Regions from separate parts of the Homo sapiens genome. Here region 2 is linked to region 1. The links are contacts of gene promoters, found by promoter capture Hi-C in human tissues and cell types (Jung and others, 2019). All regions are on one chromosome and are shown on one strand. Each heading gives the region's core, a stretch centred on a gene start or on the middle of the fragment in contact. The rest is flanking DNA. Distances are from core to core; before and after follow the strand shown. Region 1 holds the start of SHROOM3 (shroom family member 3). Region 2 overlaps SHROOM3 (shroom family member 3).

The links. Contacts are between HindIII fragments. The study calls those that stand out against the background at their distance.
Region 2: a fragment that was not itself captured here is called in contact with the fragment with the promoter of SHROOM3 in region 1 in 3 of the 25 tissues and cell types used here (aorta, stomach and thymus).

Annotation. Positions count from the first base shown.
Region 1 is chr4:76,433,831-76,436,530 of GRCh38, reverse strand. It overlaps SHROOM3 (shroom family member 3), which reads right to left and starts at 1,302. Exons shown (of 11, transcript NM_020859.4): 1 at 311-1,302. The coding sequence starts at 478. The HindIII fragment of the contact is 12,167 bases long and covers 1-2,700 here.
Region 2 is chr4:76,473,930-76,476,629 of GRCh38, reverse strand. The region is part of intron 1 of SHROOM3 (shroom family member 3); the gene reads right to left. Among named protein-coding and RNA genes, the nearest start is that of SHROOM3, 40 kb to the right of the region's middle. The HindIII fragment of the contact is 4,247 bases long and covers 1-2,700 here.

The DNA of each region.
Region 1 (2,700 bases), core at 53-2,552:
TTATTAATCTTTAATCTGATTTATAACTGAAAAGCTCATGTGGTAACTGATTGTATGCGATTTCATTCACAAAAAGAGAAGATTATCCATCAAACAGGCATATTTTTCTTCGGATTTCATAGAATAAATGAGCTAGACACATTTTTCTTTCAAATCCCAGGCTATCCAAAATATTTCTAGATAATCAGAAAGGCATGAAACAGCAAATTAAGTTATATTAAGGCAGTTCTCATTATTTTGCATTTTTGACAAATCTGACAAGTTGAAAAAAACAATTTGAATAAAGGCAATATTGGAAAAAGAAACATACCTTAGAGATGATTAATGGTTCTCCGTGCTCCAGGCCACCCTTTAGAGTAAAACCCCAGGGAGCTCCTCCCTCCAGGAATGCCTCCAGATAAATGTACCTTCCCTTGGTGGCCGTGTTAGAGTTTAATGTGGCACTAGGCTTGTGGAAGTCTTCAGTGGTCCTCATCATGCCAAACACATGATCCCTCAAGTTAAATTTAAAATGCCTGAAGCAAACTCAGGCAAGCAGTGCTTCTACAGCACAAGTTGTCCCATCCTTCAGGACACACAATGGCCAAAAGAGAGGTTTGGAGAAGCAAATTCTTCCATACGTAAAATGTTCTTCCAAGCTGAACTCCAAGATGCTGAACCAGAAGGAATTTTCACTTCAACATTTCTGAATGTAAATCCTCCTCCAGGAATTCTGGGTTCTCACTGAAGCCCCCAAGTGGTATACATCTCTACTCCGTTCGTCAAAACTTCCTTCAGTGGCGCTCTGAAGATTGCTTTTCTGAGCTTTTATTTCACACATACACACACTAAAACCATTTCTGCCTATTTTACAGAGAAAATTAAAAGCATCTTACAATATAGTAAGAAAATCACAAATACTCAAAGGAATACCTCATTTTTGATTGATTATCAACCCTTTCTTCCTCTCGGAGTGAAATTTACCATTACAATAGCCTCCTCCCTCCCCAGAAGTAGCTTAAAAAGAAAGAAAGCACTTACTATGCTTCGGCTCACTTCAGAATTTTCTAACTTGTCCCGAAGAGACAGAGAAGCTGTGCTAAAACTTTTTACTTCTTTTTTTCAACAATCAGTTCATAGTTTGTTTCTTAGGAGAGAAAAAAACTTTTGCAGGATGTAGAGAAAATGAAAAAGCACGGTAAATTAATCCTCAATGGAAAAAATATGAAGGAGGCAGCTCAGTTCTTTTCTTTGGTATTTTCAGTGATGATCAGCCACTGCTGCGGCCGCCACAGCCACTTGCCTCCTCTTGAGAGAAAGAGTAAGGAAGTTAGAGGAACATGGATTAAGGCAAAGTGAGGCATTGCAACCTTTCTGCACAGTAAGCACTGCCATGCAGAATTCAGCTCACCACAAAGACCTGACAATTCAAACAGTCTTACAGTTAATAACACGTAGGAAGTTAAAAATACTATACAGATGGCTAATTGCCAAGGGATAGAAAATAGTTCCTAGAATAGCCCCGCCTCGTACCAATTAAAGGAGAATTTCAGGGAGTGAGACATAGGCATTTGTGTTTTTAAAAACCCTCCAGGCAATTCTGCTATGCAGCCAAGTTTGAGAAGCAATGCCTAAGTGATTTGGGTAAACGTTTAAGTACATGTCAAGGTGGTGGCACAAGGGCTTTTTTTTTTTCGTTAGAAGAAAATACTACCAGTGTAATATATGAAATGGGACTTTCCAATCAAAGTTCTGCTTGTTTGACTCAATAAAAACAGGAGGTGGGTTTTTTTTTCTAGGTTTTCATTGTTATCTACTCCAAGATTGTTATCCACTCTTTAAATGAAAAGAAATCTACAATGCCTTGTGGGTAAGTACTAGGTACTCGGGAAAGAATGTTGTTCTGATTTCATGTTACCAGTGTCATTTTGTAATAATGTTATATACAAATTTAACATTCATGCTTTGTATTAAAAATTTGAACAGTAGAAGATAACCATATCTAACCCAGAAGCCTCAGCTATTTAGTTATTGGAACAGATTAGAATTACTTCCAGGTAATATATGTACTAAAACTTTTTTCTGTTTAAAAGTATGGGATAATGAGAATTAAGTTGAAAACTGAAGTTAAAAACTACTGTGGGGCTTGATAACAATTATTTTGGTGTTTGTACTTATAATTAATGAAAGGCTGATATGGAAAGGCAGGTATATGATATCAAACTACACGATATTTAATTTACAACACTGGACAGGTATTGTTTGATTTTCAATGGTAACTTCACTTGAAGGGCTCAAAGACAAAAAAAAAAAAAAAAAAGTAAAACCTTATGTAATGGTAGTATGTGAATGGAAACATAAGGAAACCTAAGGTGTACCAAATGAAAGTATGTGGTAAAAATTGGCTGATTCTTAAGGGTAATTTACGCAATTTCTATTGTGGTTTTCTTTTACAGCTTAATTTGTAAGTTAGAATAAATGGAGAAACATTAGCTTTTCTTTCATTTCAAAGAACATATGTATTTTAAATAAAAGTCCTAGGTAAATGAACAGCTTTCTTTCTGAAAAAATTAATTTATGAGGCTCTTATTATGTTACTCCTAATACATTTTGTAAAAACTGGGATTTTACAGAATCCACATTTAATATTAAAAGTAACATAGCTATACAAAATTTCAGTTAGGAGGCATAAGCTCAAGAGATCTATTGTACAGCATGATG
Region 2 (2,700 bases), core at 89-2,588, 40 kb before region 1:
TTATACAGTCAGATCTTTTGATAGTAAGTAAAACTGATAACCAAGTAGCTCTGCAGACCTATTTGCAGCTCTTCTTTAACCAAGGGACAGAAAAATAGAAGAGCTCATCTAAGAAAACCCAATGTCTAGAGATGAATTGGATTTTGTTGCCACTAAGCTGGTTTACAAGAAATGCAGTAATCTGATGCTCTGAAGCCAAGTTTCTTAATAATGAATGTATGAGCATTTGGAAGAGTACAGAAAACATATCATAGGCCAGACCTTGAGTGCTTAGTGGAGGTCATATAATTAACACAAATGGCTTTGAGAGTCTAGGAAAAGCATAGAGATCATCTCTCCTTGTGTACAAAGCACACAAGCTTCTCTAACCTAATTAGGTAACCAAATCCTTCAAAACAAAGGGTTTTCAAATTATTCTAAAAAATTGCTGCTGCCTCCAGATTCATTCCCTGTAGTCCCCCAAGTCTCATTTTCCCCCACCTGCTGGTTCTCAGCATACTGCCTGATCATAGACATATTCTGCTGGCACAATTGCCCTCACATTGTGTTGTATGCCCATGCAGTTCATCAGATTTAAATAAAATAAAATACAATTGCAGTTACAGGTAGGATTGTTTCATGTGATTTCTAGAACAGAATTTTTTTAAAAAACAGTATTGTTTTGTGATCCACACAGATCTCTTGGAATATTGTAGAAAACACTAGGAGAATTAATTACAGAGTGTTTTCTCACTCATTGTAAAATTTTTTTCCCTACTGTGGAATGTTACATTAATGAAAGCTATTGTAAACAATGAATCTGTGGTTAACACAATTTACTGAAACTGTCTTCTGAAGAACTGTGTTGAGAAAATTGAGTGCTTGGTATAAATCAAGTGATTTGCTTTGGATTTCCTTAATATTCTTTTTTAGCTTGTGGTTTTCAATCCAAAGAGCCAACATTTGCCATAGACTCTTAAATGTCCCTTAAGCATGTATTCAAAAAGCAATGTGAGAAACAGGTTTTATGCAACTTCTGCATTGAATATTTTATTTTACAATAAATATATTGGAGCTTTCAAGTACTAATTTGATTACATTTCTAAAAATTGTGTAACTAGTTAACTCTTCCACTAACTAAAGTTGAAATCAACTATGATAAAATGCAAAAGTCCTTTATCTCTGACCCAAAAGTCTTGTGTCTTCTGCCAGCATTCATGAAACTATGGCAGGTTAATTTGTTAGCTTGCTGGTAAGGTCAATTCTCAGATCCTTCACAGTCCTTGACAACCCTTAGTGAATTATTCTAATATAGCAACCCATTGAGACTTAGACTAATACAGTTATGTTTTCCCTTCCCAGTTCTCCAAATCAGAAATATGTATTAGTAAACACAACCAAAATCTCGCTTTTTCTCATTTTATCTATCACCTCTTTCCTATGAAATGAGGTAATGCTTGTATATATTCATATACATTGTATTATTACAAAACGACATATAATTCAATTTACCAGGCTAATATGATCCAGTCCTTTGAAAAATTTCTAAAATCATATGTATTCCCTAAGACAAAACTAAGCTACAAAGTACATAATCACTGTCCTCTCTAGTACAAAGGCTAGGAAAGACGCAGAGATGAATCAAAATGATGCTAGACTAAATTTCTTGAACCACGCTCTAATCACATTCCTCACTTTCTCAAAAAAAAAATTTTTTTTTTTTTGAGCCAGAGTCTCACTCTGTCACCCAGGCAGGAGTGCAGTGGCGCGATCTCAGCTCACTGCAACCTCCACCTCCCAGGTTCAAGCAATTCTCCTGCCTCAGCCTCTCAAGTAGCTGGGATTACAGGCATGTATCACCACGTCTGGCTTTTTGTTGTTGTTGTTTTTTGTATTTTTAGTAGAGATGGGTTTTACCATGTTGACCAGACTGGTCTTAAACTCCCAACCTCAGTTGATCCACCTGCCTCAGCCTCCCAAAGTGCTGGGATTACAGGTGTGAGCCACCATGCCTGGCCTCAGAAATCTTTAATGGTTCTCTACTGACAGCTTCTCACTAATAAAGCCTTTTATAATTTGATTTCAATTTATATTTTAAAATTTATTTCCCATTACTCTCTTTGTACAATCTATAATTTAGTCAAATATAACCATTACAAAGCATGGAACTATCCCATACTTTGTATTTTATTTATTTTATTGAGATAATAATTCACTTACCAGAATATTCAGCTTTTTAGAGTACACAAGTCAGTGGTTTTTAACATATTCAGTCTTACAATCTTACCACTATCTAATTTCATAACATTTTTTATTACACTAAAATTAAGTCCTGTACCCTCTAGTAGTCACTCTCCCATCCATCCTCCCCCATAGTCCCTGACAACCACTAATACTCTCTCTGTGTTTATGGATTTGCTTATTCTGAACATTTCTTATAAATGGAATTATACAATGTGTGGCCTTTATGGCTTCTTTCACATAGCATAACGTTTTAATGTTCCTCTGTGCTGTAGCATGAATCAGTACTTCATTCTTTTATATGACTGAATAATATTTCATCAATGAGTACACCATATTTTATTTTTCCATCAGTTGATGAAAATTTTTTTTCTACTTTTTTGTTATTGCTATAAACATTCATGTACAAGTTTTTTGTGTGGACTTATGTTTTAATTTTTCCTGGATAGAAATGGAATTGCTAGGACACATGGTAATTCT